Linked DNA regions of Homo sapiens: region 1 is linked to region 2. The links are contacts of gene promoters, found by promoter capture Hi-C in blood cells and fetal thymus (Javierre and others, 2016). All regions are on one chromosome and are shown on one strand. The core of a region is centred on a gene start or on the middle of the fragment in contact, and the rest is flanking DNA. Distances in the headings are between cores, read along the strand shown. Region 1 has its middle 21 kb from the start of SIRPG. Region 2 holds the start of SIRPD (signal regulatory protein delta).

Region 1 (6,867 bases), core at 2,993-5,492, 120 kb after region 2:
GAGACCTGTCCTTTAGGAACAGGCTTGACATATAATGAGCCATCTGCAGAACCTTTCTAAAGAGAGTGTAAAGCCAGCCCCTCCTACCCCTACAGGACTTTTTTTGTTTGTTTGGTGTTGAATGCTTTTTGCTGTAAAACAGAGCAATGCAAGAGTTTAGAATGAGGTTAGAGCATTTCTTCACACTTTAAAAAGCATAGCTGAGGGTTGCAGAGACAGGGGCTGTGAGTCAGGCTGGGTTGGGATCAGACCTTGGCTCCCTGACCTGCTCACCACTCAGGTCTCCTCTCTGAGCTTTAGTGCCTCATCTTTAACCCATACCCTGTTTGCTCCAAGAATACTCTTGTCTCTAATTCTAATGTAACATCAAGTACATTTCTGTTACATTAGGATTAGAGACAAGTTCTGTTTAGAAATAACTCCAAGAACAGTTTTTATATTTTATTTTCACAATGAAAATCAGTCAGATTTGCTTCAACCTCAAAGAGCATGTTTGTGTAAAATTAAATGAGCTCTGGCAGTGAGCTGCACTGTTTTTTTTCTTTCTAAGTGGGTTAAAAGAGGCAACAAGTGGCTCCTCCTTCCTAGAACTGGTTATGAGGAGACTCTGGCACAGCTGCTGCTCCCTGCTTCCCTCCCTGCCTCCCTCCTTTCTCATCCAGGGATCAATTAGGCTGATAATATGGCAAAGAGGAGTGAGCACTTCACTAGGAAGTAGCAGATTGGGGTCACACCTGAGCCACTTACTCGATGTGATTGCCTAGGGTGGGAATGCATCAACTGGGAACTTGCGTCTTTATCTGTAATAACTGCAAAATCAGGATAAAGCCCCCTTCTCCATCTATGTTTAAGGGTTGTTAGGAGTCTCGATTGCTAATGATCTAGGAAGGAAATTAGGCAGTGTTCTTACATATGAAAACACACACACCCTCTGACCTAGCAATGCCACCTCCAGTGGGCATTTGTCACCTGAGTAGGATAACACATGTACAAGGTCACCCACTGCAGGGTTCTTTTAATAGTTCAACATTGGGAGCAACTTACATATTTATCAACAGAATACTGTAAAACAAATTTGATATTTTCATAAATTGGACTATTCTGCAGCTGTCAAAGAGTGGAACAGCTCTCTATGTCCTGACGTGGAATCTCAATAAGGAATGATAGGGTTTATGTTTGGAAGAGTTTTTCCAATCACCAATGGGCTTTAGTGTCTGAATGTGAGGTGCATTCTGAGCCTTTGGGAAACCGATGAAAAGGAGAATTGCTGGCTCTTCGGTCAGTGGTTTTGTTTAAGGAGCTTTTATTTAGCTCCTCGAACATAGTCCGTGTTGTTTCTCTTTGTCTAGTCTGAAATAGTTGTTACCTGGGGAAAGTAGCCTTCTCTTGGACTGTAGATTAATTCGTGGCCTGGTCCAGCTCCTCTGAACCACTGGACAGGCCCCACAGGGAACAGGGAGGTCGCAGTGCAGTGCAGAGTGGACATCTCTCCAGCTGCGACTGACATGAACTTCTCAGGCTGAATCACCTGCAACTCCTCCTCAGCTTTCACTTTCATGACAAAGCAGTCATTTATTCATCCTTACATGATCCTGTGTGTTTCCTCATGTGTATCAAAGACTTTCATTGATCGAGTGCATATCAGGAGCAGAGCTTGAGCTCAGCACATTGCATATATTATCTCATTTAACCTTCACAACAAGCCTGTAGCTTGTTGTGACATGAGACTGTATTAGAAGTGAGGACAATGAGGCGCAGAGAGGTTCAATTTTAAGATAGAGCTTAAACATGAGACTGTATTAGAACATGAGACTGTATTAGAAGTGAGGACAATGAGGCACAGAGAGGTTCAATTTTAAGATAGAGCTTTGGGTTGAGGACCTGAATGGAGCTCCTGAGCCCTCTTTGGAAGTGTCATACTTTGCTAAATATTTTTGCCTTCACTTTCTGGCCATATGGAGTATTGCAATTTCTGGACCATTTCATTGACTGAGGTCATGTAACTGCTTTAGACCATTGAGTCATGAGTAGAAATGATGAGCATAATACGTGGACTGTGCATTCAAATGCAAGAACCTCTATGGATCACCTTCTCCCTTCCGCAGAGACCCACAAGGCTCTGATGGAGTCTGCTCCATCAGCCTGGATTCCTGAGTGACAGTGACATGCAGAATCCCCAACACACCATGAAGATGCAGCTTAAAAAGAAATAACATTGTTTTAAGCCCCTGGGAATTTTTCACCCATAGCATAAGTTTCCTAATGCTGATACGACTAATTACCAAAACTTGGTGTGTTACAACAAAAGAAATGTATCATATTGTAGTTCTGGAATTCAGAAGCCCAAAATTGTGTGACTGCGTTACAATCAAGAAGAAAAGTCAAGTATGTAAAGGTGAAGAATAAAATGGTACTGACCAGGGTGAAGTGCAGGGAGGTAATGGTGAGATACAGGTCAAAAAATACAAAATTGAAGATAGGTCAGATGAGGAAGTCCAGAGATCGAACATGCCATATATCGACAACTAGAGTTAACAATATTGTATTGAATTTAGTATTTTTGCTTAAAGAGTATATTTCATGGGCTCTTGACACACACCCACATGCAGAGTAACTGTGAGATGATGGATATGTTCATTTGCTTGACTATAATAATCATTACACTATGTATATGTATAGGAAAGCATCATGTGGTACACCTTACATATATACAATTTTTTTAAAAAACAGCTATGTTTTCTGGAGTCTCTGTTCTTTGCCTTTACTAATTCTGGAAGCTGGTAACATTTCTTTTCTCATAGTTACGTCTTCCCATCACTCCAGCCTCTGGCTTGCATCCTCACATGTGCTTCTCTAACTCCTAATTTCCTGCCTCCTCCTTCTTATAAGGACTCATGTGATACACTGTGGGCCCACCCTGATGCTAGACCAAGATGTTAAAACCACTGTCTTCAACACGTTCAAAGAGCTAAAGGAAACAATAGACAAACAACTAAAATAATTCAGGATTATGATACAGTAACAAAATAAGAACTGTAACAAAGAGAAATTATAAAAAGAAATCAAACGAGAACTTTAGAGTTGAAAGTATTACAACTAAAAGTTCATTAAAGAGGTTCTCTAACAAGTGAGCAGGTGGGAAAAAAATCAAGAAACTGGAAGATGAAATCATTGAAATTATTGACAGTGAGGTATAGATACAACAAAAATGAAAGATAATAGAATCTAAGGGAATGATGATACATTATCAAATCGATAAAAATACACATTACTAGAGTTCTGGGGGAAAAGAGAAAAAGAGAAAGGGGCAGAAGATTATTGGAAGAAATCATGAACAAAATCTTCCCAAACTTGATAAAATACATGAATCTACAAGCTTAAGGTGCCAAGGAAACCCAAATTTAACTCAGCGATAAAGTCAAAGAGACCCACATTAAGACACATTATAATCCAACTGTCGACAATTAAAGTCAAGGAAAGAATTCTGAAAGCAGCAAAAGAGAAGCGATTCCTCTCACGCGAGAGATCCTTGTAAGATTATCAGCTGAGTTCTTATCAGAAGCATTGGAGGCCACAAGACAGAGGAATGATATGTTTAAAATGCTGAAAGAGGAAAAACCTATCAACCAAGAACTCTACACCTGGCAAACATCCTTCAAACACAAGGGAGAAATTAAGATATTCTCAGATAAATCCTCAGCCATGGATCCTTGCGTGAATAGCACGATGTCTCCAGGCCCAAACTTCCCTGATCTGTAGAAGGGGTGGCATCAGGTCATGAAAATGAGCACCCACCACCACACCCAACTGGTGTGGTGAGAGTTTATGACCACTAAACCTTACCTACAAAAACGCTAAAAGGAGTGCTTTGGGTGGAAATGAAAGGATGCTACATGGCACTCAAAATTGTATGAGGAAATAAAGATGTCCAGTTAGGTGTACATTTAAAAAATTCATATTTTCCTGATGCCTCAACATCCCTGAAACAAGCTGTGAGCACCCTACCAAATGACCAGGTACAGCAGTGTGATAAAGCTGGTCCCTGCCACAATTCCCCTTTTTGTCCTCCTCTGCTGTGACCTAGTAGAGTAGTGGCATTAAAACATACCAGTGAATCCATCATGGTTTTTGTGTCCTCCACCCTAACTCCCAGTAAGACACTTGCCTGGGGTTCCAATCTGTCTTGCTTCCCCATCTGCTTGGTTGAGCCTGCTTCACGGAAGCTCCTTCCATATGGCTTCCTACCTGGCATGCCATACCCCACTCTCTGGGAACTATGAGTAGAATAAATTGTTCATCTTCATATGTCTCTCCAAATGAAATTTTCACAGTCATGTTAGAGTGTTCTTTATAGACCCAATCAGCAGGACTTACTCTACCATTTTCAACACTAATGGCAATGAGAATGGGATCATTCTAAACTAGGGTGGAAAGTTCCTAGGAGATTCCCTTTGAATGCTCATGGCTTGCTAATTTGCTACTCTGATTGGCTCAACCATTTGGGAGATGCTATTACCCTGATGGCTTTCTTGTACTCTGCTTTCTTCAGCTTTGTGTTGCCTTTTGGGAGTGTTACCAAGACTCTCCATCCTAAAGTGGGGATCATGTCTCAATATCAATAATGGCATCCACCTTTCTTCAGGAGCACAGAGATGACATTACATTGATAACAACATCTTTAAAACAGATTCATTTGACACACGTATTAATGTCATATAATCCAACACCTTTAAGTTTCTGTTAAATGCTAGTGGCAACATATTCTTTTACACATCATCGAAAACAATACTCTTGTTAGTGCCTTCAAACAAACGGACAAACAAACAAAAATACCTCTTCTCTATAAAAATTTTGCCAACTTCTTTCATGCCTGTTGGAGTCTCTTCACCACTCATGTTGGCCATGAATTTCCCCAGGGCTTTTGATGCAGAAACAATGCCCCTCTTGGCCTCATCCTATATTCCATTAAAACAACAAATGACTGGTTACCTACTGGGATCCCCTGGTCTGGAGTACAGTTCTACAAGGCATACTTTCCTGTTGCAATCATTAACCATAAATTGTCCCACATCCAGGCTTTGCTCACCTGATATGAAGCGCATTGGAAACTAAGCTTCCACTAGAACACAAAATTAAAATCACTGCCAGGTCCAGCTGCACACCATTCTGTTGACAGTTGGCATTATTACTGCTAGGTTTGTTAATGCAAAAATACTCAACCAAATACTAGCAAACTGAATTGAATAGCATAGTAGAAGGATAATACACCATGAGCAGATAATAGTTATTCCTGAAATCCAAGGATGTTTCAGTAAACAAATGACAACAATGTAATGTACCATATTTATGGAATAAAGGGAAAAACACATGATTATCCATTTGATGCAGAAAAGCCTTTGACAAATGTGGCTATCTTTCTATGACAAAAATAATCAATAAAAGGAATATATGAAAACATTCAAAATTATAAGTCATATACTCATACTTTCTTGTTTTTTTGGCACTATCTAATTTACTATTCACTGTCTAATTTACTATTTTATTTACCTCCTTATCATGGGTATTGGTTACTGTCATTCTCCAGTGGATATAAGGAACAAAAGGGAAACTACTTTTTCTATTTTATTCACCAGTGCACCCAACATTTCTATGTCAGGTCCTGGAACATAGTAGATATCCAATAAATATGTGTATAATGTGTGAATTGCTCAGTGGGATACTTTCTTAAGAGACTGAAATCTTTTATTTTAAATGGATTGTTTCTGTTGAATTTGGAGAAAATAAATTTCCCATGTAGATGAGTTGGTGAAGAAAAAATCAATTTGCAATCATACAGAAAGCAGAAGAGCCCAGGAGAAGAAAACTACACATCCTCTTCCTCATACCACACCCCTGCACACACTCATACTAGCAGCAGCTGCAGAAATCTCATGGAATAGAATCAGGGCCAGAAGTATTTGGGAAGAGTAATGGTGAAAACTGTGATCTCTAGATTAAGAGTGCCTGAGCTCAAATCATAGCTCTGCCAATTACCAATGAATGACCTTGGAATGCTTTGTGCTTCTGTTTCCTTATCTATGTGTGTGTGTGGTGGGGGGCAGGGGGTGATAAGAATCTCTACCTTGGATATAATGATCATCCAAAGTAAGAGCTGTAAGATGTTTCCAACAGTGTCTGCCACATGGAGGGTGTTCAAAAATTATAAAGTTGGCCAGGCACAGTGGCTCAAGCCTGTAATCCCAGTACTTTGGAAGGCTGAGGTGGGCAGATACCTGAGGTCAGGAGTTTCAGACCAGCCTGGCCAACATGGCAAAACCCTGTCTCTACTAAAAATAAAAATAAAAAAATAGCTGAGGGTGGTGGCACACCCCTGTGGTCCCAGCTATTCAGGAGGCAGAAACATGGCAATCACTTGAACCCAGGAAGCAGAGGTTGCAGTGAGCTGAGATCGCAACACTGCACTCCAGCCTGGGTGACAGAGTGAGACCTTGACTCAAAAAAATGAATAAATAAATAAAATAAAGTTTTTACTCAGTAGATTTCCTGAAGCTTGGAGGCTTCAATGGACATTAGATGATGAGGATATAGGTATGACTATGGATATGGATATAACTAATATAACTATAGATATAGTTACTATATAGATATAGATGCTATAGGCCGAAGTTTCTGCAACTTTATCCACTTCTTTCTTCCTCACACCTACCCTTCATGAAAGTGGGAACACTAATAGAGTAATGCATGGAAGTTCTATTTTGAGGGACTATGCATTTTACCAAGAGGTTTGCTTATCTATTGCTTATCTTAACAGATTGGGGGACTTTGAGGGGTAAGATCAGAGAAGTAAAAAAGAAGAGAGAGTGTGGG
Region 2 (6,684 bases), core at 184-2,683:
AAAAATTCAAGTGAGTTTTACTAGCTTTAAGTATCTTAAGTTAGCTTTTACCTAAATATTTTTAGTCATCCTTAACTCTCCATTGAATAAAAAGAGGAAGCTTTATAGTTACCCTTCCTATGTATAAAGCACAGACAGATATAAATGCAGTACATAAACCAACAAAGAATATATCTAAGTTATTAAAATTTCATGTTGAGGCTATTATGAGTTGAATTGTATGCCTCCGAAATATATGTTGAAGTCTTAACCACAAGTAGCTCAGAATGTGACCTTACTTGGAAATAGAGTTACAGAGGAAATCAAGTTAAAATGAGGTCATTGAGGTGGGTGCTAATCCAATATGGTGGATGTTTTTATAGGAAGTGGAAATTTGGACACAGAGACAGACATACATGGGAGTAAGATGATGTGAGGATACAGGGAGGGTGGTGCCACCTGCCATCCAACAAATGTTTGAGGCTACCACTGCTAGAAGCTCAGAGACAGACATGGAACAGATTCAACCTCACAGTCCTCAGAAAGAACCAACCCTGCCCACACTTCGATTTTGAATATCTAGTCTCCAGACCTGTGAGAAAATTAATTTCTGTAATTTAAACCACCCAGTTTGCAGTACTTTTTAAGAGCAGCCAAATGCAGTGGCAACAGAGAAATAAAAAACTGAATTTCACAGAAAGAAGTGTAAAATCTGCCAGGGGCCAGGTGTGGTGGCTCACGCCTATAATGCGAGCACTTTGGGAGGCCGAGGCAGGTGGAACTCTTGAGCTCATAAGTTTGAGACCAGCCTGGGCAACATGGTGAAACCCCATCTCTACAAAAAAGACAAAAATTAGCTGGGCATGGTGGCGCGTGCTTGTAGTCCCAGCTACTTGGGAGTTGGAGGCACGAGAATCACTTGAGCCCAGGAGGTGGAAGTTGTAGTGAGCCAAGATCGCACCACTGCACTCCAGCCTAGGTGACAGAGTGAGACCCTGTCTCAAAAAAATAAGTAAAGGTAAAAATAAAATAAAATAAATTACACCCTCCAGAGGCTGGAGGGTGAGAGCTGTGATGGATGCTGTGCCCCGCCCTGTGACCATAGGTGTGAGTCGTTTACCTGAGCAAAGAGATTTGCAACAGACATGGCCACCGGGAGACTTTGTCAGAATTGGGGACCATCCCAGTGTAGTCTTCTGAGTTCTGCCTGTTCTGGGATAAGATGGAGAAAACCCTCCCAAAAGAAATTCTATGGGAACAGGTGAGGGAGAGTTCACTAAACAGGCAGAGGGGAGAACCCACCACACACATACACTGAGGCCCCACTCACCTGCCAGTTCAAGCAGCAGATACAGCAGTAAGGAAGGCAGAGGTGGGTGGAGTGGGGAGGCAGGGATGGGCATTGTGGTGAAACCTGGAGCTTGCTCTGCCTGAATGCCTGTCCTGGAGATGCCCTCGACTCAGTGCTCCGAGCAGAGAAGACAGTTCTTGCCTCTGTGATGTCAGAGGAAGGGGATTGTGATGAGAGGAAAGGCCAGGGGACTGGGACACTTTTTCCTTTGTGATTATAAAATTGAACAGACAAGGTTGCTTCAAGCTAGGAAGTTGCTGCTGGAAGTATTTAGCTTTGCTGGGGCTGGGGGGCTTGACACCCACAGCCTTATACTCCTTCCTGAGTTTCATCCCATCTCACAGGTTCTCCCCAACTTCATGGCCTTTGCCTATCTAGGAGCCTCAGACACATAGGCTAGACAAAGGCCTCATCCACATGATGCGCAGGTATGGGTCTAGCTCCTGCATGAGCTCAACATCTGGGCCTGTCTGAGCTGCACAGCTGAAGAAAGAGACAAGATGTCTATAGCCTCACCCACTTGGTAAGAGTTGGACTTTACAATGGATGCCCTTTCTTGCACTCCAGAGTAGTTAGAGGTAAAAAACAAGCAATATCTGCTGTGGGCTCTTGGCTTTTCTGTGGGTCCCTCCATACACTACCAGGAACTGCTTCCTTTTTCCTTCCTGCAGAGGAATCAGGCATGGCTGAGAAAGACATTCGAGTTGTGCAGGTGGTGATGATTTGTGCTTTAGAGGATGGAGGAGGCCTGCAGGGAAGGCGGAGCTGCGGGGAACACTCTCTAGGAGGGAGAGTAACATGCCTACAAACACCTGGGAAGGTGAGGGCTGCCTCTCCTGCTTGGGCTGGACCTGGGACCAGCTCTCAGAGATGGGATTGGAGGGGCAGAAGAAATGCCCCCAGAAAGAGGGAGGAAGCAGCATGTTGGCATCCTTCTCTCTCAGCTCTGGAATGGGTTCTTCCTAAGCACAAATGTTGTGTTCAGGGACACTCAGCCCACACTCAGCTGGTGACCCTTTAATGTCCAAGCATCCACAGGCAGGCACTGGCTGCCATGGCTGTTTCCCCATTGCCTCCTCATGACTTCTGCCTCCTCCTCAGGAACCAGCTAGATGTCAGGGCCGGGAGAGGTGTTAGACCCTCTAGGAAAAGAAAGCAGAGCCAGGCTGGCACGTTCTCTCTGAGACGACAAGAGTCCCCATCCCCTTGTGATGTCATCATCCTATCCCGTTGTTCTGAAATGATGAATTCCACAAAGGAATTCCTATCCATGGCCCCTGCTTGGAACTAGACAGGAACATTCCTCCAGCCTCCATCATCCTCCCCTTCCCCTACTCTGAGGAATCTTCTCACCTTTCATTAGACTCTAAGTTCCTTGGAGAGTCAGTACTCACGGGTCAGTATCCAAGAGTGCCAGCTTTGGAATCAGATATAATCTAGGCTAGAATCCTGAACGCACCTCCTAAGAGCTGAGTAATCTTGGGCCCATGATACAGACCTGTATATTCTGCAACCTTCTTGACATCTTCATTTGTATATATATATATATATGTATTTTTTTTTTCGAGACAGAGTTTCGCTCTTGTTGCCCAGGCTGGAGTGCAATGGTATGACCTCGGCTCACTGCAACCTCTGCCTCCCGAGTTCAAGTGATTCTCCTGCCTCAGCCTCCCGAGTAGCTGAGACTACAGGCGCCCACCACCACGCCTGGCTAATTTTTGTATTTTTAATAGAGACAGGGTTTCACCATATTGGTTAGGCTGGTCTCGAACTTCTGACCTCAGATGATCCACCTGCCTCAGCCTCCCAAAGTGCTGGGATTTCAGGTGTGAGCCACTGAGCCTGGCCTCTTTGTATACCTTAAATATTCAAGTTTGAGTTTCAGATCTGCACTCACAAACCTTATCTTCTCCCACACCATGCCTGTTTTGTATATGGTACCATCATCTAAGCAGTTTGTCAAACCAGGAAGGGACTCATGTTCTATACCCTCACTTATCCACTTGTTACCAAGTGAAAGGGGGTTGCTGCCTGATGTGCTAGAAGCCAATACTGTGACACCAGGCTTTTGAGAAAAGAAAAGCTTTTTATTGCAAGTTGACTAACAGGAAGACAGAAGTCTACCTCAAATCTAGCTCCATGTGCTGGCTTCAAGGCAGTAGTTTTATTAGCAAAAGTTTAGGGGTTGGATTCTGGGATTAGTATGTGATTTGTGAAAGGAAAGGGGAGGTCTGGAAAGTCCTTGGGCATGTACAGTTATCTCTCTATGCCTCTTCACGGCTCCCATGTGCAAAACCCTGGGGCGTCATCATGAAATACGTGGTAGAAACTCAGGCTGTGACATCAGCAAGCTCATTCTGAGCAAACTCCAGTTGGCCATATTGGTTCCAACAGATTTTAGTCAGTTTTGTTATCCTACAAGTGGAGGAAGTTTCGGCAGTTTAGCAATTTTTTTTTTTTCTTATCTGCTATCCTGTAAACTCAAGAATTTCTTAGTGACTGGTTTCTTTAACTCTTTGGGGGCATAGTTTCACACTCCTATCTTGCCCCTACCAGGCCCTATTGGATTTACCTCCTAAATCCCTTCTGAATTAATCTCTTTCTCCATCTCTATCATCATCTCTTGCCTGAATAAGAACAATTGCCTTCTCACTAGGGTACCCCCATTTTTATTTGCCCCCTATAATCTCTTTCTCCTTCTTCAGCCAGACTGGTCTTTTTACAACATAGATTTAATTATGTCCCTCTCTTGAATAAACATTTTTGTGGATTCTCATTAATCTGGAGGTACTATAAACAAGGCTTTCTTCTGTGACTGACTTGCTCCCTTAGAGATGAAGGGATCCCCACCTTTCTGATACGTAGCATAGCTTCACTGTCCCAGGTTGGGTTCCCTGGGAGACAGACTCTGGGGTGAAGATGAACAAGCAGGTTATCTTTCAGGGAGTACTTTTAGGATCAACACTTGTGGACGGGAGAAGATGGAAGCAGGACTGGGTAGAAGAAGAAGCTGGGCTGCAATGAAGTCCCATTGAAGACCTCAGCTGACCTTGCATGGAGCCTGGTACTAGGATATTCCTCCAGAGTTGCTCTGAGTTAGGATAAGAGAGCTGGGCCTTTATACGACTAGGTTGATGAGTCCAATGAGATGTGGTTTGTTACCAGATACGACCTAAGCAAGGGCACTCCCTTCAGCTGAGACAATCGCAAATAGAGCTGATGCTGAGGACCATCTCCACAGCCAGGTGCCTCTCAGCATCCATTACACAATTCATGGGAACAACTTGTTCCTGTGAAGACTTGGGCTCAGGACATTATTCACTCACTCATAGTCAGGTCCTCAAAGCTATCCCAGCTCACCCACATAACCCAAAGTTTTCTGATCCCACTTGGTCTGACCTGGATTTTACTAATGGGAAAAGTTTAGGGTGAGCATCACGGGGGATTGAGAAGCCACTTCCTCTGGGATCTGAGTGCCTAGATCTGGGGTGAGCTCTGGTAGTGGACAGAGGAAGGACGAGAGGAAAGGAAACCTCAGGCTTTTGAAGTGAGATAAAACTTTGGAATATCAACAAAGTCTCCCTACCGCACATTTCCTTGCATTGTTCCCCACGGGGTACAAGAGGCAAATAAAACCTAGCTGAGGACAAGACGTTAATTTTTTCTAATAGACTTAATTTTTTAAGGACAGCTTTAGATTTACAGAAAAATTGAGCCCTATCATTAGCATCTTACATTGATATGATACATTATTATAATCAATGAACCAATATTGATACATTATGATTAATCAAAGTTCATAGTTTATTTAGATCTTTTCTTTTTACCTAATGTCGTTTTTCTCTTCCAGCATCCCATCCAGGATACCTGTTACATTTACTTGTCATATCTCCTCAAGCTTCTCTTGGCTATGACAGTTTTTTAGACTTTCCTTGATTTTGATGACCTTGACAGTTTTGAGGAGTTCTGGGCCCGATGTTGCAGAATGCCTCCTTATTGAAATTTGTCTGATGTTTTCCTCATGATTAGATTGGGGTTGTGAGTTTTGGGGGGAAGGTAATAGAGGAAAAGTGTCATCTTCATCACATCATATTAAAGGTACATATTAGTGACATGATTTATGATTCTTGATGTTGATTTATAACTGTTGATGAACTCTTGATCACCTGGCTGAAGCTGTATTTGTCAGATTTTTCCACTGTAAAGTTATTTTTTCTCCTTTTTTCCATGCTGTACTCTTTGCAAAGAAGTCGCAGTGCACAGCCCACACTTCAGGAGTGGAAGTTATGTTCCACCTCCTTTAGAGTGGAGTGTATAAATAAATTATCTGGGACTCTTCTGCACTGGAGATTCTTCTCTTCTTTCCCATTAATTTATTCAATCATTTATTTATATCAGTATGGACTCAGATATTTATTTTATACTTTGGACTATAACTCATTACTACTTTACTTATTTTTTTGCTGAAAGTGTTCCAGCTTTGGCCTTTGGGAGCTCTTTCAGTTGGTTCCTGCGCCTCTTTGATGTACTCCAGTCACTGTGGGTTTTGGTTTTGGGGTTGACTTTTTTTTCTTGTTAGCACTTTCTTACTTTCTAGAGGATGTTGAATTTTTGATGGAATGTTTTAAACAGAAAGAAGAGAGAGTAGTCTTTAAAGAAAGAGCTTGAGAATACAGCACACAAGCCAAGTGATCAAATGAAGAGAAGTTTTCTTTTGAAATCCAACACCTAGTAGAAACCAATGACCTCAATGATGTATTCACTCATTTAAAAAAATTGACAGCCTATTATATGGCAGACACAGTTCTGGCAACTGAGGATACAGATAATCCTCCCCCACCCCCAACCCCCCACGATATAACTGACATTCCATTTGCGTAACATAGATAAATACAGGCAGTTCTCACTTTGGTGATGACATGCATGCATTTCTCTTACCATAGTTTAGTTAAGTAACATCAGTCCCACAACACAAGTCTCAAAATTTAGGTGCCATAGTAAATTTAATGTAATTTGCATAGAGTACAAACTTCTGGGCTAGCTCTTCAGTCCACAAATCACCATGGTAATAAAAGCTCGTCATGATCAGTAACCAGTCATGTTGTGTCTTTCAAAGTCTGTTGGTGATTGGTCCCTATGGCTCTCCTACTCAAACAGCAAATCCTATAGTTGGGTTGCCTCCTTGCCTCCCAGTGATGAGCCCATATGACATTTTACAGAAATGAATAATTGAAAGAGGAATTTTGCAACCAAGATGAAAGTGCAGTGAAGAAATGAGAAGTGAAAATGCTGCAAGTGAGGTTCAAATTGAATGTGAGTGGAATTCTAGAAGTACAAATAGTTGACTGTGGCAA

The links. Contacts are between HindIII fragments. The CHiCAGO score rates a contact against its expected background, and 5 or more counts as called.
Region 1: a contact is called between a fragment that was not itself captured here and the fragment with the promoter of SIRPD in region 2, in 3 of 17 cell types (activated CD4 T cells, naive CD4 T cells and non-activated CD4 T cells). The highest score is 5.8, in activated CD4 T cells.

Annotation. Positions count from the first base shown.
Region 1 is chr20:1,675,341-1,682,207 of GRCh38, forward strand. It overlaps a transcript of SIRPG not described here. Among named protein-coding and RNA genes, the nearest start is that of SIRPG, 21 kb to the left of the region's middle. The HindIII fragment of the contact is 1,737 bases long and covers 3,375-5,111 here.
Region 2 is chr20:1,556,272-1,562,955 of GRCh38, forward strand. SIRPD (signal regulatory protein delta) reads right to left here and starts at 1,434. Exons shown (of 4, transcript NM_178460.3): 1 at 1,310-1,434. The coding sequence starts at 1,382. LOC107985409 (a long non-coding RNA gene) reads left to right here and starts at 1,736. Exons shown (of 3, transcript XR_007067493.1): 1 at 1,736-1,853; 2 at 4,274-4,394; 3 at 5,181-5,266. It overlaps SIRPB1 (signal regulatory protein beta 1), which reads right to left. Exons shown (of 6, transcript NM_006065.5): 6 at 5,114-6,684. The HindIII fragment of the contact is 3,313 bases long and covers 99-3,411 here.